2 separate regions of the Homo sapiens genome follow, and region 2 is linked to region 1. Evidence: promoter capture Hi-C in human tissues and cell types (Jung and others, 2019). All regions are on one chromosome and are shown on one strand. The core of a region is centred on a gene start or on the middle of the fragment in contact, and the rest is flanking DNA. Distances in the headings are between cores, read along the strand shown. Region 1 holds the start of OGDHL (oxoglutarate dehydrogenase L). Region 2 has its middle 36 kb from the start of OGDHL.

The links. Contacts are between HindIII fragments. The study calls those that stand out against the background at their distance.
Region 2: a fragment that was not itself captured here is called in contact with the fragment with the promoter of OGDHL in region 1 in 1 of the 25 tissues and cell types used here (stomach).

Annotation. Positions count from the first base shown.
Region 1 is chr10:49,758,720-49,763,927 of GRCh38, reverse strand. It overlaps OGDHL (oxoglutarate dehydrogenase L), which reads left to right and starts at 1,605. Exons shown (of 23, transcript NM_018245.3): 1 at 1,605-1,689. RefSeq lists a silencer at 1,645-1,854 and an enhancer at 4,962-5,208. The HindIII fragment of the contact is 26,824 bases long and covers 1-5,208 here.
Region 2 is chr10:49,795,379-49,800,822 of GRCh38, reverse strand. No RefSeq gene overlaps it. Among named protein-coding and RNA genes, the nearest start is that of OGDHL, 36 kb to the right of the region's middle. The HindIII fragment of the contact is 7,341 bases long and covers 1-5,444 here.

The sequences.
Region 1 (5,208 bases), core at 356-2,855:
CTGACTTGTAAACTTTTCCACTATTACCCCAAACTGCAGCTTCTCCTTTTCCCTAGCTCACTGAGAAGTTCCACTGTGCCCAAGTCACTAAAGCCAGACACCTGTGAGTTATCTATGTCTCCACCCTCATATCTGGTCAACCACTAAACCCCGTGGAGCTGATCCCCGTAAGTCTCTCAAATCTGGCCACCTTACTCCGTCTCTACTGCAAGTACATTACTGCCTCTCACCCGGAATTTGAATTTTGAAAAACAGAAGAGCCTTGAAGAGACAGTTCCTCTATGGCTCAGCCCTGCTTCCTGAAGTAAATTTTCAGCTTTCCTCTGATTCTGTGAGTTGCCTTATATACAACCTTCATATCAACTCGTTTTCGGCTGAAGCTAGCCAGGTCATTTTTGGTGCTTGTGTCCAAAGAATTCCCAATGAACCCTGCCCTTCTGCACCAGATAAAATCTTACTCATCCTTCAGGATCCAAGTCAAGTGTCCATTTACTCACTCAGTCATTCATTCAACAAATATTTACTGAAAAATACCATGATAGTGCTGTGTTAAGTGCTGAAGATTCTTGACCACATGTATCCCTAACTGTCTCCAAATAAAGAACTTTTGGGAGACTTCAGGTGCAGAAGTTAGTTGTATTCCTTTCTTCGTGGCACTCTGTCAGCAGTGATCTGGGTAATTGATTAATTACCTCATATCCACATTCCCCATCCTCCTCCCTCGACAAGCAACCATATTAATTGGTTTGATATGTACTTGAATATATTCTTGTGAAGTGCATACTGTAGTTTTGAGATTAAAATTCAAGAGTGTAAGTGTAGAAGCAGAGAAGCCAGTTAGGAGGCTGCTGCGATAATCCAGGAGAGATTTGATGGCAACTTGAACCACAGGTATGTTATGTTCCTATACAAGAAATCCCTGCATTTAAATGAGAACAAAACCCAACAGAAAGCTGAAAAAAATACAACAGAAAACCCCAAACTAACAAACAACGGGAGATGCAAATGGTTGATAACCAGAGAAATGCAGATTAAAACAATAACAGGACATTGCATCTGCTATTCTGATAATAATTAGAAAGTTGATCTCTATCCCAGAGAAAGTTCCACGCAGGATCCTAAGGGAATGTGTATGAAGAAGTTCATTGCAGCCTTGTTTGTGGCCACGGGGTGGTGAGGACAGCCTGGGTCACCATCAGTGGGAGGATGAATGGGTAAAATGTGTATCAGATTTGGGGTAAGCACTTTTCACGCATTATCTCATCTTTTTTTCAAAACATCCCTAAGATAGTGGAACTTTTCATAGCATTCCCATTTTACAGACGACAAAACAAAACCTATCCTCTCCTACACACAAAGGCTGCTTGTCGTCTGGTACATTCGTCCTAGTTTTAGGACGAGCACACGGGGTTCAGGGCCTCAGCCCCGTTCTGCGGTCTCAGAGAGGAGTCCCCCCTTCGGCCGTGGGCGACCTCGGGCCTGGGCCGCCAGCACCGTGGACAGCGCCAGGAGCGGGGCGGGGCATCCATGGAGACGTCACGACGCGCGGAGTCTCAGGGGCGCGCGCCCGTGGGCGGCTGCGTCACGTGACCCAGGTAATTGGCACGGCGCGCGCGCACCCCTTCCGCGCAGCCCCCTGACCTGCAGCCTCCGGACCTCGCTGCAGCGCGGACCCGGCCCGCCCGCCCGGTGAGCGCGGCGGCCCGCCCCCTCCCGGTCCCTGCGCCGCTGCTTCTCCTGCCGTCCTGGGGACCGGCCCCACAGCTCCTCTCTCCTGGGTCCTGGGGCGCCGCTGCCCGCAGCCCTGAGTCTGGCCCCGCCGGGGGGAGGGGGAGGAGGAACAGACTGTGACCTTGGCTCTGACCTTGGCTGGCCGTGGCCTCCCCCGGGACCCCCAGCCCATCGCGCGCGTACCACCCGGCTAGTCCAGGGTCCTGCGCAGAGGAGCGGGTGCTCGCGGTGGGTTTCTCCAGCCCGAGGACTTCAGACTGCCCCGCGCCTTCCGTGGCCAGGGGAGGGCCCGGAGCTGCGAGGGCTGTGCGGGGGATGGGGAGGGTCAGCGCTGTGCACCTGGCGGGACCCATAGGCAGCTTCGGACTACCAAGGAGCCTAATAGACGGTTTTAACCGCGGTCTCCGATTACAGATGAGAAAACTGAGGCCTGAGAGAGGGCGGCATGGCCTGAGGTCGCTGCTTGCATGGGATGCGCTTCTTCCGCCCCCCGGGAGATGTGGGAGGGGGACGGGGTAATCCCGAGGCCACAGCAGGCTGCAGTACGCATTCGCCGAACCGGAGAGACCCTTTGACGCCCCTCGGCCACCTGGCTCAAGCAGGCCCTAGCAGCCCCTCCCCAGTGTCTTGGAACAGGCCCCAACTAAATAGAATTGCGGTTTGTTGCTGAGCAAAAGCTCATCTGCTTCTCAGAAAGTGGGGTCAGAGTAGACCTGCTGCTGAGAGAATCCAGGCTCTGCTGCTGCCCAGCTTGGAGGGCCCTCTGGGGAGAACCCTTCCCGGCCTCTGTTTACTGATCTCTGCAATGGGTGCATTAGGGAGTAGTCCTCACTAGGGCACCCCAGACAGGGTTGTGTGTGTGGGAGTCTTAGTGGCCATGGTGTCGGCAGTTTTCTGGGGTTGGGTTGAGGTTCTGAGGTTGGGTTGGGGATGCTATGTGACCTTGTCCTCAGAGAAGAGACCCCCAAGAGATACCCAGGGCAACTCTGCTGGAGTCTGGACTGGGCAGGGGGTTGCACAGGGCACCTGACTCTCACTCCTTGTTGCTGTCCTTGACTGTATGGGCAGGAACTAGTAGGGCTGGCTTGGGCTCTGGCTCTAGATACTGAGCCCTCATGCCCTGCTGGGATGCAGGTGGGGGTGGGTGGCAGGCTGCCCTCCTGCCAGGCTGGGTCAAGGTCACAACAGTGCCCAGTGGCCAACCCAGACTGTTTAGTGTTTATAAAACAGTGTTCCTGCACCGGGCCATTCTGGACACAGCCAGACTTTGTCCCTATCTGGCCCAAACTGCCCCATTCCCCTGTGGGGGTGGGAGTGGCGCTGGCAGAGGGAGCAGCTCTGGCTCAGCTGATGGGAACTGCATCGCTAAGAGAAATCTGGCTTACATATTGACTGCAGTGATCAGGGCACAGTCGCTGGAACCCCACACAGCCCTGTCACTCACCAGATTAGCCAGCTTAGCCTCTTGCACCTCAGTTTCTCTGTTTATAAAGTGGAACTGATATGAGTGCCCACCCCATGGGATGTTGGGAGGATTAAATGAGCACAGTATCTGTCCTAGAATCAGTGCTCCTGACGGTGCCTATTATGTTTATTCCCATGACGATGGTCTTGATATCTAGTTTCCTTTGCCATAGACTGGGGATGATAAAGCGTCCTGGGTTGTGGATTCTTTTTGATGCTCTAGAAGATTCTCCCTGATGCTTCAGGAGCTCCTGGGCCTAGTGGCCAGCTGGGCTGGCACGACCTTCTCTTTGCCCAGGCCTCTAGGATAGTCAGAGGTGGAACAGGAGTTGGGACCCTGGCTGCCTGACCCCAGAGCTCATGCCTGGCACTTGGAGAGGTGCTGCTCCCAGAGGAGCCGGCCCCAAGTGCCCCGCGCTCTAGGGCTTGGCATCACTGGCTCGTGGGCTGGGCCACATGACCCGAAGCCTCAGGGGCTGAGCATTGGGGAGGGAAACTTGGGGGCACTCAGAGGCTCCCAAGCTCACCTCCCTCCTCCCTGCAGTGGAATCTTTTTTGTTTTGAAAATTTTCTCTGTTCAGGCTTGCTGCTGGTTGCCCCAGGAGCCTGTCCTCCCTCCATTGAGGTGACATCACCCCTTTCCTCTGGCTCATGTGAGTTAGAAGGAGGGCTGTGCCCTGCCCTCTGGTGGGGCCTGACCTTTTGTGGAAAGTCCAGCCAGTGAGTTTCTGGTGACATGGTTGAGCTGATGGCAGGGGTGAGGCAGAAGGGTGCAACAGGTGTTGGCTGAGCACACCTGACCAGGAGCGTTGGCTCAGGGCCTGGCCTGGGCAGTACTTGGAAGCCAGTTATACCCCAGAATGCACATTTTCTGGGGCCTGAGCTGTCCAGGGGTAGGGGACTCCTCCCGCCTGGGCGACCCCTTGTGGGGTGGTCCTTGCACCCAGCTTACAAGCTGGGCGGTCTGGGCAGGAGGGCATTAGCTGGTATTCATGGGGAGCTGCTCTATGGCAGTGGCTGTGCTGGAGCAGAGGAAGGGGTTCTGCTCACAGTTGTAGGGTGGGGAACAGAGGTCCCACTTTACACATCATGTGTAGGATGAGGTGGCAGGGGTATGGGGTGATCTGGGACCTCAGTAGGCCCTATCAACCCCTAACCTGCCTGGATAGGGATATCTGGGGGGTTCTCCAGGATTGGCAGAGGGCTCTTAGAACTCTTACCGTCTGCGGAATAGAGAAAGCCCCCATCACTGAAAGCCCAAGATTTAGATATTTTCCCTGGGAAGGCACAGGTGACAGAGTGAGGTGAGATGAGCTGCAGGGCCTGGTTCCCCGTGGTCTGGGTGGGCTTCCAGTCTGTACCTGCCTGGACTGTTAGCTGTCTTGAGTGGCGCTGGGCTGGGCCTGGGGCTGCCTTCCATTCTACTCTTCCTGCCCCTCCAGACCTTAGCCCTTCCTGCAATGAAGTGGGGCTATTGTTGGGCCTAGTGTCACCAGCCTTCTGGCTGGGCCTGGGAGAGAGGGCACTCTGGCCCAGGATTGCAGTCACAGGGAGTCACTGGTCACTTTTGGTCGCAATGACTAGAGCCACAGCCCTCCTGAGATAGTGTGCCTCTATCACCCCCGACACCTGTGCTCACTGGATGCTTTTGCCCCTGCTTTTCCCTGACCATGCACAACACACCTGACCCCTGGAGGACTGCCTGCCCTGGTTCTAGGGTGGTGGGCCTGAGACCCACTCCTTCTTGGTGGTACTCCCTGCACCTGCCCTGTGGCTCTCCGAGTGGGCTCCAGGACCTAGGTGGGTGCTCCCTGAGGCAGGGCCTGGGGAGTTCATGTCTCTGCACAGGCTTTGGGGACTATCCGGGAAGGAGTGTGGTCTGGGATGAGTGTGGCACAGCAGGGCTGGGGCTCAGGGCTGTTTGATATCTATTGATAGAGTTTACTGAGCTGGGAGCTTCCACCAGACAGTAAGCCCAGGGGGCTGGGAGAGTGTCACATTCCCAGTCTCATC
Region 2 (5,444 bases), core at 2,419-4,918, 35 kb before region 1:
CTGCACTCCAGCATGGGCGACAGAGCAAGCCCCTGTCTAAAAAAAAAAAAAAGCCAAACACCGAAGACCACATCTTGTATGATTCCATTCATGGGAAAGTTCGGAATTGGCATATTCATAGAGAAGGAGAGTAGAATTGTTGTTGCTTAGGGTTGGGGGCAGGGATGAAGGGAAAACAGGGGTGATAGCCAAAGGATATGTATGATATGTATGGTGTTTCTTCTTGCAGTGACAAAAATATCCTAAAATGGACTGTGGTGATGGTTGCACTTATCAATAGACTAACGACCATTGAATTGTACACTTCATGTATGTGAATTAAATTTTGCAAAACAGTAAATCAGAACACTAAAGGGATGGGCCTTGAAAATTTATGGGTTGAGAAACTGATGCTCTTTTGGGGGAAAAAAAAAGTTTATGGGACTCATGGTGGCAGCCTTGAAAGGCATGGCTTCTTAGAAAGGAAGATTTTTTTTTTTTAGGAAGGAAATTCAATATTCTTTCATGATAAAAACTCTCAGCAAGCTACGGAAGGAAGCCCTTAGACTGATAAAGGGCATCTCTGAATAACTAGCAGCTTTTTCCTGATAGCCTCAAACTGGAAACAACCCAAATGTCCAACAGGAGAATAAATAAGCAATTTGTGGTATATTCAAACTACTCAGAACTAAAAAAGAATGAATTACTGATAAAATTACTAATAAAAACAATATGGATGAATCTCAAAAACATGCTAAGTGAAATAAGCTTATGCAAAAGAGTACACACCATACAGTTGCAGTTCATATGAAATTCTAGAACAGGCAGAAAAAAAAAAAACCCATGATGACATCAGAACGATGTTGTCTGTGAGTATGGGGTGGAAGATTTACTGAGGAACATAAGAAAACTATCTGGGGTTGATGATGATATCCTATATCTTGATAGGAGTTTGGGTTAAACAGAACTATGCAATTGTCAACATTTAGCAATACATACTGGATATTTGTGAATTTCATTGTATGTAGATTTTACATTTAAAAACTGCAAAGAAATATTGAGCTCTATTTAATGATAGATATGATAAAGTGTCTAAGGGGAAATGGACAGATGTGTACAATTTACTTTGAAATGTATCAACACAGTATGGATTAGTGCAGGGAGAGAGGGATAGTTTCAGCAACATGTGGGAAAGCAGTAATTATAAAATGCCAATTGTAGAATCTAAGTGATGAGTATATGAGTGCTTGCTGGAGAATTATTTTCTGTATATTTGAGCATCCTCACAAAAATGCTAGAAAAGGCCAGGCACGGTAGCTCATGCCTGTAATCCCAGCACTTTGGGAGGCCGAGGCAGGCGGATCATGAGGTCAGGAGTTCGAGACCAGCCCTGACCAACATGGTGAAACCCCATCTCTACTAAAATTATGAAAATTAGCTGGGCATGGTGGCACGTGCCTGTAATCCCAGCTACTCAGGAGGCTGAGGCAGGAGAATTGCTTGAACCCGGGAGGCGGAGGTTGCTGTGAGCCGAGATTGTGCCACTGCACTCCAGCCTGGGTGACAGAGCGAGACAAAAAAAGGTAGAAAAAGGAGAAAGAATGGTTCTTGAAACCTGAGTGGTGAAAGGGAAAGAACAAGAGAGGGATATAGACTATTGGAAGACAGAAGAGAGCCAAAAAGTTGAAGGACACATGAAATACTCCTTCATACACACACCCTTCCCTAAAGCCATCTATTAGGGAAAATGCAAGGACAGTCCGGCAGTGACAGAAGAGGGAGGAGGGATTTTGTAAACCACCCAGCCTCCCAATCCCATTCACGGAATGCATGCACACGGGCAGTTTCCATCCACACAACGCCACAAGAAGAAAACAAAAAGAATCAGAATATTTCAGCCCATGAAACTCTCCCTAAAACTATGGAGCAGAAGAAAACTATAACACAGCATTTCAATTTGTACCATAACTATAACAGGTTCACTGCCCAAAGTTCTGCCTTGCCCCTTGAAGTCAATCCCCTCCCTATGGTCTAGCCCCTCTATCAAACATTGATATGAGTTCAGTTCCTATAGTTTCGCTTTTTCCAGAATGTGATGGAGTCATTCATTCATCTTGAATGCATCATTTATCTTTTTATCTAACTTCTTTCACTTAGCACACATTTTTTGAGAGTGATCTATGTTGTAGCATATCAGTTATCAGTAACTCATTCCTATTACTGAGCAGTATTCCATTGTATAGAGGTACCATAATTTGTTTATTCATTCACCAGTTGATGGACACTGGGTTGTTTCCAGGTTTTCGTGGTTATGAATAAAGCCGCTAGAAACATTTGGGCTTTGTGTGGATATGTATTTTCACTTCCCTTGGGTAAAACCCCAAAAGTCGGATGGTTGGGTTGTATAGTCAACTTTAAAAGAAACTGCCAAAGTGCTTTCCAATGTGGCTGCACTATTTTGTCCTTTCGCCAGCAGTATATGAGAATGGTATTTGCCCTGAATACTCACCCACACTTGGTATCCTTGGGTTTCTTAATTAAATTAAATTTATTTATTTATTTATTTTTGAGACAGAGTCTAGCTCCATCGCCCAGGCTGGAGTGCAGTGAAGTGATCTCAGCTCACTGTGATCTCTGACTCCCAGGCTCAAGTGATCCTCCTGCCTCAGCCTCCTAAGTTGCTGAGACTACAGGAGTGTGCCTCCATGCACGGCTAACTCGAGTATGTTTTATAGAGATGGGATTTCACCATGTTGCCCAGGCTGGTCTCAAACTCCTGAGCTCAAGCATTCTGCCTACCTTGGCCTCCCAAAGTGCTCGGATTACAGGCATGAGCCACCATGCCCGGCCAGGTTTCTTAATTTTAGCTAAACTCACTGGAATTATTATTAAATTTTAAATATTCTTTATGTTTTCTGGATATAAATCCTTTATCAGATATGTGTTTGGCAAATATGTTATTCAGTCAGTGTCTTATTTTTTCATTTTCTTAACAGTGTCTTTCAACAGGCTTTTTAAAAGTAAGGTAAAGTAAAATTTATTTCAAAAATGTAATGGCCTGTGCCACCTGTGTCCTATCTAATACATTTTTGCCTGACCAAAGTTCACAGAGATTTTCCTCCTATATTTTCTTCTAAAAGTTTGGAGTTTTAGGTTTTAAATTTAAGTCTAAGATCCATTTCAAGTAAATTTTTGTATATGTGATAAAGTAGGGGTCAGGGTTCTTTTTTTTTTTGCATAAATGTTCATTTATTTCAGCATCACTTGTTGAAAAGACTTCTTTCCTCATTGAATTGCCTTGGGAACTTCATCAAAAATTAATGAAGGTGCTGGGCAGGGGGGCTCACGCCTGTAATCTCAGCACTTTGGGAGGCTGAGGCAGGTGGATCACGAGGTCAGGAGATGGAGACCATCCTGGCTAACATGGTGAAACTCCATCTCTACTAAAAAGACAAAAAAATTAGCTGGGTGTAGTGGCGGGCGCCTGTAGTCCCAGCTACTAGGGAGGCTGAGGCAGGAGAATGGCATGAACCCAGGAGGGGAGCTTGCAGTGAGCCGAGATCGCACCACTGCACTCCAGCCTGGGTGACAGAGCGAGACTCCGTCTCAAAAAAAAAAAAAAAAAAATTAATGAAGGTGTGTGAATCTATCTCCAGACTCCATAAACCAAAAATAAAATTCTAAGCCCCCTAACCATCTTAATGGACCCCTCTTCCAGGCCAAGGGTGTTCCAAAGTTAACCTGAAAAATTACTTCAGTCTGGGGGTGGTTCTTCGCACCTGTAATCCGAGCACTTTTGAAGGCCAAGGCAGGTGGATCACTTGAGCTCAGTTCAAGACCAGCCTGGGCAACATAGTAAAACCCCATCCCCACCAAAAATACAAAAAAATTAGCTGGGCATGATGGCTCACACCTGTGGTCCCAACTACTCGGGAGCCTGAGATGCGAGAATTGCTTGAACCTGGGAGGTGGAGGTTGCAGTGAGCCAAGATTGTGCCTCTGTACTCCAGCCTGGGCAACAGATGAGACCTTGTCTCAAAAAGACAAAACCAAACCAAAAAAACCTAGTTCAGGCCGTGATGGGAAGGGTAGCCAGACATGCCTCGTTTATACCCCCTCCCTTTTGGAATTACTGATAAACCTCTTTTAAGTCTGATAAGAAATATTTACAATCTGTTCTCTCTGAAACCTGCTACCTGGAGGCTTCATCTGCATGATAAAACCCCTTATCATAACCCAAACTTTCCTTTCCATTGATAATAACCCATTGCTAATCAGAAAAATTTTATTTTGTTTTATTTTATTTATTTTTGGGACGGAGTCTTGCTTTGTTGCCCAGACTGGAGTGCAGTGGCACGATCTCCACACAGTAGAACAGTGGTTGCTCACTGCAACCTCTGCCTCCTGGGTTCAAGCGATTCTCCAGCCTCAGCGTCCTGCGTAGCTGGGATTACAGGTGCGCACCACCACGCCCAGCTAATTTTTGTATTTTTAGTAGAGATGGGGTTTCACCATGTTGGCCAGGCTGGTCTTGAACTCCTGACCTCAAGTGATCTTCCTGCCTCAGCCTCCCGAAGTGCTGGTATTACAGGCATGAGCTATGGCACCTGGGTGCCAGTTAGAAAATTTTTAAGTCTACCTATGACCTGGAAGTCTTCCCACCACTCCCTGTTCAATGTAGATTGAACCAATGTAAATCTTACACGTATTTGAATGATGTCTCACGTCTCCCTAAAATGTATAAAACTAGGCTGCACGATGACCACCTTGGGCACATGTTCTCAGGATCTCCTCGGGCTGTCACTCATATTTGGCTCAGAACAAATCTCTTCAAATATTTTACAGGGTTTGGCTCTTTTTGTCAACAGTAATTTGGTGCCCAAACACGTGGGGCCTCAGAGAAGATTCATGACCCAGAAGGAGTTGCCTGTTCTTGGAGCTAAGGTACCAGCAGGGGCCCATTGAAACCTTCCCGACTTCGAGCTTCTCCTCCAGTGGAACTGGGAAGTCTTCACGAGTCCTGGACCTCCCTTTGGTTTATAAATGATCCTTGATTTATTTTGAGCTGGTTTTTTTTTTTTTTCCGCCTAGGAAATTGTTTAGGATCCTAATTCTAGTTCAGAGTTGCATTCTAAAGGGTCTTCTCCATTGCTTTTTCTCCCAAAATTAAGCTCAATTTTCTTGTCTGTGCATTTGCATGAGCAACTGAACTGCCCTTTTCATAGATAAATGAGAGTCTGAGCTCCTTAGCTCTGAAGAGAGAGGGGATTTTGCTCCTCTCAGCCTGAAGGTGACCCTAGATGACAAGGGGCTGGAGTGGGAGCCTCTAAGGGATTGACTCCTTGTAATATGCAGCGGCCCTGCAGCAGGGAATCCTCCAACAAAATTAGTTTCAAAAGCACACCCAGGAAATGCATATAAGAGCTGATAACTCTGTGTTTCAAGCCCTCTTGGAGATGACAGAC